2 separate regions of the Homo sapiens genome follow, and region 2 is linked to region 1. The links are contacts of gene promoters, found by promoter capture Hi-C in blood cells and fetal thymus (Javierre and others, 2016). All regions are on one chromosome and are shown on one strand. The core of a region is centred on a gene start or on the middle of the fragment in contact, and the rest is flanking DNA. Distances in the headings are between cores, read along the strand shown.

The links. Contacts are between HindIII fragments. The CHiCAGO score rates a contact against its expected background, and 5 or more counts as called.
Region 2: a contact is called between a fragment that was not itself captured here and the fragment with the promoter of TMEM109 in region 1, in 1 of 17 cell types (activated CD4 T cells). The highest score is 5.3, in activated CD4 T cells.

The regions. Positions count from the first base shown.
Region 1 is chr11:60,912,271-60,916,806 of GRCh38, reverse strand. TMEM109 (transmembrane protein 109) reads right to left here and starts at 2,649. Exons shown (of 4, transcript NM_024092.3): 1 at 2,539-2,649. It overlaps TMEM109-DT (TMEM109 divergent transcript), which reads left to right and starts at 2,744. Exons shown (of 2, transcript NR_186356.1): 1 at 2,744-2,847; 2 at 3,330-3,641. RefSeq lists enhancers at 741-790, 1,851-2,020, 1,415-2,413, 3,412-4,410 and a silencer at 2,201-2,360. The HindIII fragment of the contact is 3,992 bases long and covers 1,390-4,536 here.
Region 2 is chr11:61,317,369-61,321,904 of GRCh38, reverse strand. It overlaps DDB1 (damage specific DNA binding protein 1), which reads left to right. Exons shown (of 27, transcript NM_001923.5): 10 at 208-310. Among named protein-coding and RNA genes, the nearest start is that of DDB1, 13 kb to the left of the region's middle. The HindIII fragment of the contact is 3,172 bases long and covers 451-3,622 here.

The DNA of each region.
Region 1 (4,536 bases), core at 1,400-3,899:
CTGCCTTGTTCTGTGCCAGCCCCAACTCTCCAGTGGCTGTCTGCCCCAGTTAAGGGGAGCTAGGAGACCTTGAAATAAGCCCTCTGCAGTGAGGCTGGCATCGTTATGCAGACTGATGTTCTGAAGTGCACCAGATACCAAACCTAACAGGATTGTGTAGTGTATCCTTTGGAGATAATGAGTGCAGAGATTGGCTGGCTGGTCTGCTTTTTCAAATTGTTTTCTTTAATAGGATTCCTTCTCATTTTTTTCCAGGTGAATCTCAGGCAGTATGGACTCACTGCTATTAGGCCTCCTCACTTTGGCCTAATCAAATAGTTTTACTAAAGGCATGGAAACAGTCTCAGCCTCTGAGAGGAGGAAGCATGTCTTAAAACTTCTTCACCTTCTGCAATGCCTGGCCTCAGACAAATAATAGGCACTCAATTAACAACTCATAATAATACAAATGTTATACATATCTATACATATACATATGTTATAATAATTTTTGTGTGGTGCTTTATAATTCACAGAGTGCTTATTGTTTCATCACTTCATTTAACTCTAACAACAATCTTTTAAGGTATTATTACCCTCTTCATCTTACTCAGAAAAGTATGGCTTAGAGAGGTTGAGTGACTTATCCAAGATCACACAGCAGAGCTGGGACTTGACTCCAGTACCCAGGATCTCAATCTTGCCTTTTTGCTTGTCCCATACCCGCATGCTGCCTTGATAGTGGACATAGTCCCTGCCCTCATGGAGCTGAAGTTCACCAACAAGCTCAAAGTGGAAGGACATCCAGACTCCTCCGAGGGAACACATACCAGGAGACCATCTGCCTTCTGGGCTTACAGGCCATGGTTTTGTACCAAGAGGTATGAGAGGACAGCAAAAGGTGGGAGACAAAACCTGCCACTTCTGTTCGGCAGCTGCAATATGGCTCAGGTGGGTCTGGAGAGCCCAGCCTGGCTGGGGAAACAGCTTTACTTATTGTGTTAGTGAGAAGGCGCCACTGCTTATGTTTAGCTGTGGTTTGCTACAAGGGTAGGATGGGGCATTTCGCGCCCCCCCCTCCCAATCAAGGCTCCTTCCTCCTCTTCTCTTTCCTTTTGTTAGTTTCATTTCATGCTATGAATCACCAGGTGGCAGGAGGGGCGGCAAAAAGTGCCCTCTACCGGCTCTGACTGTCCCGCCGCTGCTCATAGCTGCCCCTAAGGAGCGGCGGTTCTCAACTTTGGCTGCCCATCGGAACTGCCTGTGCAGCCTGTTAAACAAGGACGTCTGCCCCACCCAGGGCTACTCACTCAGACTCTTCCAGAGAGGGACTCAGCCCTTTGTTTTGCAAAGCTCCTCAGGAATTTCGGATGCATAGCCAGCAGCTCAGGGAAAAGTCTAAGCAAAGCTTCAAAAGTGCAGCAGTGTACAAAGGACCCCTGACTTCCGTCCCAGGCTCAAGTGTGCCACGGACTAGAAGCTACTACCTTACGCCTGTTACTTAACCTGCCTGAGTTGCAGTCTCCTCAAACGTAAAAGGGAGTGAACCCAGGTGAAGAGTTGCTGTAAGGAGTTAAGATATTTCTGCAGCAAGCGCTTTGTAAACTAAACATCTATAGAAATGTTGCAGCACACACATTACCACTGACTATATATCGTAGCATAATTTAGCAGTTTATCAACCTGCCTTCCCCAGTAGACCGAGCGACTCCCGGTTAGACTTGACATGTTGGAATCCCCAGCGCCTAGTAGGAAAGATGACTAATAAATGTTTATTAAATGAATATTAGCAACCTGCCAAGAAACCGTGAGGGTCGAACGAGAAAGCCATGGAGAGGTGAGGAGGGAGGTTATTTTAATAGTAGATCCAAATATACAGCAGCCACACGAGAAGCACAGCTGAGTCTAAAGGAAGGTCCTAAACAAGGCGAAGCCGCCACTGCAGAGAATGAAGTCAGCGCCCTGGCAGGTTGGGGGCAGCTCCCACTAAACCCCTGACAGCTGCTGCCCAGCAACTGTTTGGGGGCAGGGCGACGGCAAAGGGGCAGCTTCCCTGCCGCTCCGCGCCCTAACCGGGGCGCAGCCTCCCGGAGACAGGGTGTCAGTGGCATGTGCTATTTCGAACGGCGCGTCCCCTGCCAAGCGCTGAGGGGTAGCGTCGCTGGCAAGGAACGTGGCGCGACCCATGAGTTTGGGGCCCCCCGAAGGGCTCGAGCCGAGGCTGCAGGAGGCTGGGCCGTGGGTCGGGGTTCGGGGGCTCGGGCTTGGCGCTGGCCTGGTCCCCACGCCCGGGAGCCGCTCCACCTCTGCCGGACCTCGGAACCTCGCCGCAACCCTCTTCTCCCCGGAAACGTGCGCCTCCCGGGTTGCCTGGAAACGACGCCCCCGGTTGCATAGCAACGGGGATCCGGGTCCCCGGTTTGTTTCGCACGCTGGGCGCGCGGACCCCTCCCCACTCGGACTCTCCAGGCCTCGCGGCTCCGCCTGGTGCCGCCTGCAGCGGCTGCTGTCTCCCCTTCCCGTGCGCTGCCCCACATTCCGACCTCGGCCCGCTCTCACCTTTCTCAGGCCACTGCTATCCTTCACGTGCGACTTCGCTGAAACGCGCCACCAAACCCGCGCCTCAACTCGGGGCGCTGGTTTACCTTCTCCGCATGCGCAAGGCGGGATGAGCTCGGAGACTAGCCGGCCTTCCTCACAATCGAAGCCTGTGCCGGGAGCGCATGCGCCCCGCTTTATCTATTGCGTTTCTTTTTCCCCCCACAAGCATTCCCACCGAGAGAAGAATGGGATCGGAAGTTCCAGCAGGGAACGGAAGTCTCTGGCTGGAAAGGGGAAATAAGTGACTATATCTGGGCTGTAGAGTGGGTAAACTGGATCTTTGAAATCGGAGTGGAAGCTAATCCTCCTCTTGCCACCACTCGGCATTTTGGGTCATGTAGTTCTAGAGCTACAAATGTTCCCTGGGGCATTGTGGGCAATGTAGTTCTAACCGAGCCGCTAACGAGCACCTAGTCTTCCCATACACTTTTCGCGCTAAAAAGGCACAAAAGAGAAAGATATTAAAGGAGCAATTAAAAGCACACTGCTCTAGGAAAACGAATGCGCTCCCCCAGAGAGAAAATTCATACCTGAATACTGTAGACGGCTCCCAAATGTTAGCTCAGAATTTCAGAGAAAGAGAGGAACCAACTCTCACTCTCCTTTTTCTGCCACAAAGGCAGTGCATAGGGACAGGAGGCAGATAAATGCTAGGTAGAAAAGAGCGGGTCCCTGGTGAAACCCCACCCTCAAGCCAAAAAGCCTGAAACCATGGCCCAAAGTGAGAACTTCTATCCATGTTTTTCCAGTTGAATGTTGCCTTTTCCTAAGCCACCCATGGCTCTGCCCTGCCTCATCCTGTGCCTAGAAAGACCCCAGACTCATCTGGCAGAGAGGAGAAGCAGCTGGATGAGGGGACGACCATGGCTGGATGTCAGAGAGAAGCAGCTTGTCTTCAGAGGGACAGCTTAAGGCGTAACTTCTGAGACGAATCTGGCTGGAGATAGCTGGACTTCAAGGGAAGACTACATACCGGCCTGTCCCACCCCCCTCTTTTCAGCTCACCTTCCCTCTGAAATCCACTTTGATCAGCAATAAAATCCCAGGCATTTGTCCTTTAATTTGTTCGTGCAGCTTTATTTTTCTTGGACGCTGGACAAGAGCTCGGGAGCCACGAGTGCGGATACAAAAGCTGTCACGCTGGCCCTCTGCCCTTGCTGGTGGAGGGCAACCGCGGGCCCACGGAGCTGTTAACACTTAAGCTGTCCACGGACGACAGAGCCAAAAGAACACTGTAACATGCCCTCTGGGGCTTCAGGAGCCTCAGGCACTCTGCCTGGACACTGCCCCGGGGCCTGCACGGAGTTCGCTCCTGCCGGTGTCCAAAAGCGCACGCTCTGGCTCCTGCACCCACTCACCTGCACGCTCCCTCCTATGAGGGGTGGAACGCGGTGAATCTTGAGTGAGTGGAGTGTGATCCCACTGGTGCTGAAAAACGGCTGGCTTGTTCCAGCGCTTGTGCACTCCAGTTCCCGCCTTGTTCACTTGCGTACTCCCTCCCATGAGGAGTTGAGAGCAGCGGGCTGAGTAAACGGGGCACCCCTGTTGTGAGTCCTGTGAAAGGTCAGGGCAATATCCTGCTTCAGCAGCACCGTGAAGGAGAATGAACAGGGCTTCAGAATGAGGTGATCTCTTGCCTGTCGTGTGATCCTGAGCACACAGCTTCATTTCTCTGAGCCTTCATTGCTTGACGTTCAAGAACTATAAAGGACCTAAAAATACCACTTCACAGTAGGTGTGAAGTTTCAAGGAAGCAACAAGCATGAACATTAAAAAAAAAAAAAAAAATCCAGGTTGCTGACTGAATGTTTTTATCACCATCAAGAGCTGTCATAGGAGAGCTTCCTTTTGATGTTAAAACTTGTTTCTCAAACTCAACCCTCTAAAACGTAACTCTTCCCTCCCACCCCCAACCATTCAGCCTTCCAGTTCTGCCTTCCTCCTAGAGTACACACT
Region 2 (4,536 bases), core at 787-3,286, 410 kb before region 1:
GCTTTTTGCTTCCTGGACTAGGATGTCCTGTCTGCTCTGTAAATTTGAAAGACTTTGGAAATCAACCTCTGCCAAGTCTGCATCCTCAAACCTAGCCCCACAATAAAGGTTCTTGGATTTAGGTATACCGTGTTTACTTTCTGGGCATCAGTATGACTGGCCCAGTATCTTGAGGGGGTTCTTTAGAAACGTTTTCTCTGCTTGCAGCTGGTCACTTGCTCTGGGGCTTTCAAGGAAGGTTCTTTGCGGATCATCCGGAATGGAATTGGAATCCACGAGCATGCCAGCATTGACTTACCAGGCATCAAAGGTAGCTTTTTTGGTGGGCATAGGATGTAGATCTTACATGAGGGACTTTGGCCTTGTTACATGTTGTGAAGGCGTTTTGGTGGGAGCCAGAGGAAAGCAGATCAAGTGAAGAGTGAAAGTCGTAACAACAGATCAGAAGCTTAAACATATCTGAAAGTATAAAAGTAAACTTTAGAAAAAAAAAAAAAAGAAAATACTACTGATCAAAATTGGTAGTGGAATAGAGGACTAGGGGATTAAAAGATTATAAATTAAAATTAATGTTGTTTATATGAGGCAACCGATAGAATTCATAAAGAAAGGAGAGACTGAGGATATTTTATGAAGATATAAGTATAAATGTGGTTTCTAGATAAAAAATATAAATCTTCCTAAATTCCAGGAGAATTTTAATAAAAAAAAGATCAGAGGCTAGGCGAGGTGGCGTGGCTCATGCCTGTCATTACAGCACTTTGGGAGGCCAAGGTGGAAGGATTGCTTAAGCCCAGGAGTTTGAGACCAGCCTAGGCAACGTAGACCTCATCTCTATAAAAAAAATTAAAAATTAGCCAGGGGTGATGGTGCATGCCTGTGGTTGCAGTTACTTGGTTCTAGCCTAGGTGGAAGATCACTTGAGCCCAGGAGGTTGAGGCTGTAGAGAGCCATGATTGTGCCACTGCACTCTAGTTTGGGCGACAATGAGACCTTGTGTCACCAAAAAAAAAAAAAAGAGAGGCTACACAGTGAAAGACATTTAGAATGTATAAGCGTAACCTAAAACAGTATGACAGAATTGATATGGAACATAGCTGTCATGTCAGTAAATGTAAATGTCCTGTTTGAGGACAGCATAATCAGATTAAATCATAAAACAAAACCACCTTAAAGTTGTATATAGGAGGCACATCTTTAAAAGAGTAATTCTGAAGGTAGGTGCAGTGGCGTGTGACTGTAGTCCTAGCCACTTGGGAGGCTGAGGCAGGAGGATTGCTTGAGTCCAGGAGTTTGAGACCAGCCTGGGCAACATAGCAGGATCCCATCTCAATTTAAAAAAAGGAGTAATTCAGAATATGAAAAAAAAAGTATGGGAAAAGGTCAATAAAGAAATAGAAGTATGGCCAGGCATGTTGCCTGACACCTGTAATCCCAGCACTTTGGGAGGCTGAGGTGGGTGGATTACCTGAGGCCAGGAGTTCGAGACCAGCCTGGCCAACATGGTGAAACCCTGTCTCTACTAAAAATACAAAAAATTAGCCAGGCATGGTGTGGGTGCCTGTAATCCCAGCTACTCGGGAGGCTGAGACGGGAGAGGCACTTGAACCTGGGAGGCGGAGGTTGCAGTGAGCTGAGACTGCGCCACTGCACTACAGCCTGGGCCACATAGTGAGACTCCATCTCAAAAAAAAAAAGAAAAAAAGAAAAGAGAAGTATATGAAATTGCAAAGGAAGAGATCATATAACTACAAACCCAAGATAATCAACTAAAAAACTACTATAGACAATACAAATTCACTAAGATAGCAGGATGTAAAAGTAATGTACTGAAATTAATAGCTTTCATGTAAACACAGTCAATTAGAAAGCATAGTAGAGGAAAGGGGGCAATTTACCATAACAAGAAAATGATTAAGTACCAAGGAGTACATTTAACAAAATTGTGCAAAACCTATACAAGGAAAACTTAAAGATACTCCTGAAGGAGGAAAAGAACAAGTTGATCAAACGAAAAAGACACACCAAGTACTGCAAATCAGTATTATAAAGCTGTTCTCTCTTTATATTTAATGTACCTGAATATGTATACAATGTTTCCTTGACTTAGACAAGTCCAAATGGAAAAAGGAAGAAGCAGGCATAACCAGGAAAACTTTAAAAAGAGCAATGAGAGGCCGGGCGCAATGCCTCATGCCTGTAATCCCAGCACTTTGGGAGGCCGAGGCGGGCAGATCACAAGGTCAGGAGATCGAGATCATCCTGGCCAGCATGGTGAAACCCCATCTCTACTAAAATACAAAAAATTAGCCGGGGGTGGTGGCGCGTGCCTGTAGTCCCAGCTACTCGGGAGGCTGAGGCAGGGGAATCACTTGAACCCAGGAGGCGGAGGTTGCAGTGAGCCGAGATCGTGCCACTGCACTCCAGCCTGGCGTCACAGCAAGACTCCATCTCAAAAAAAAAAAGAAAAAAAAAGAAAGCAGTGAGACATGTTAGCCCTACCAGATACTGAAGCATACTGTTAAGCCTCTATAATTAGAAGTGTAGTATTGCTGATGAATAGGCAGAGTCTAATGGGCAGATTCAGAAGTCCAGAAATGACATAATTACATGTGGAAATTCAGTGTATGATAGTGGTGGCTTCTCAGTTCAGTGAGTAAAGTTGGGACTTTTTAAATTTTTATTTGTATTCATTTTTTGAGATAGGGTCTCACTCTGTCACCCAGGCTGGGGTACAGTGGCATGATCACGGCTTACCATAGCCTCAATATCCTGGGTTCAAGAGATCTTCTCTATGTCAGCCTCCCAGTAGCTGGGACTCCAACCATGCGCCACCACGCCTGGCTAATTTTGTTTGTGTTTGGTAGAGGTAGAGACAGGGTCTCCCTATGTTGCCCAGGCTGGTCTCAAACTCCTAGGCTCAAGCGGTCCTCCCGCCTTGGCCTTCTGAAGTGCTGTAATCACAGGCATGAGCCACTGAGCCTAGCCTAAAGTTGGGACCTAATAAATGGTGTTTTTGGGATAATTGATAGTCATTTGGGAAAAGACAAGTTTGGGTTCATACTGCCTGCCAAATGTACACTTGGCTAGAATCTAAATGGTTGAAAAACTTAATGTAAAAAAATGAAGCCATAACTATGACTCAAAGTACAGAAGCCAAAAAGAAAGATTGATAAATTCCAACTATATAAAAATAAAACACTTCATAGCAAAAGCAAAACAAAACACTATTAGGTAAGTCAGAAGAAATGACAAACCAGATAAAAATATTCTGTAGTTCATCTTATAGACAAAAGGCCCAGTCTTCCTAATTTATAACATATTTATAGAAAGATCACTAAATTTTCTGTCCCCAAACTAGCAAAGGACATGAATGGACAGGCAACAGTCCTGAGAAATGCACATTAACACCAAACAGCAGTACTCTACTAGATGACCAAAATCCAGAAGTTTGACCACACATTATGTTGGTCGGGCTGTGAGAAAATAAACATGCTTGTGCATCCTCTATAGAAGGGAATTGGGCAATATCAAAGACAGCAGTTAGCGATTTACTTAGTAGTCCCAGTTCTGAGCCTCTACCTGACCTTTATATGTATAAAGTGACATAAAAATACAAGCTTATTTCTTGTGGCATTGTATGTTATAGCAAAATACTGAATAAATATAATGAGAAGGGATTTGTTAATCTGCATAATTTAATAATTATAGATAAATGATTTACACAATTAAATACTGTGTTCTGATAAGGGCTTCAAGCATATATTGTTCAATGAAAGAACAAGGTGCCAAATAGTGCATGATAGACTATTTTATATTTGCATTTGTTTGTAATACTCTATTTCCTTAAAGTAAAAAAAATTAAGCTTAGTGTTGCATAGTGGGCCTGTAGTCCTTACTGTTCAGGAGGCTGAGGTGGGAGGATCACTTGAGCCCAGGAGATCGAGGCCAGACTGGAGCAACATAGCAAGATCCTCCCACACCCCATCTCTTTACCAGAAGGCTAAACAAGATGCCTTTATTGATTACTTGTTTGGGGGATGGGTTGGAGGGAGGTATGGGAATGAGACTTTTCTGTGTACTTTTAAAAAATAAATTTAGGCTGGGTACAGTGGCTCACACCTGTAATCCCAGTACTTTGGGAGACCGAGTGGGCAGATCATGAGGTCAGGAGATCGAGACCATCCTGGCTAACACGGTGAAATCCTGTCTCTACTAAAAATAGAAAAAATTAGCCAGGCGTGGTGACACGCACCTGTAGTCCCAGCTACTCAGGAGGCTGAGGCAGGAGAATCGCTTGAACCCGGGAGGCGGAGGTTGTAGTGAGCCGAGATCGTGCCATTGCACCCCAGTCTGGGTGACAGAGCAAGACTCCGTCTCAAATAAATAAGTAAATAAATAAATAAATAAATTTAGACTTTGGGTCATGGAAATGTATATCCAATCCCAAATTTAAAATAGGCTCAAAACAGCTTTAAAATTATCTAACTTTTGGCCCGGCGTGGTGGCTCACGCCTGTAATCCCAGCACTTTGGG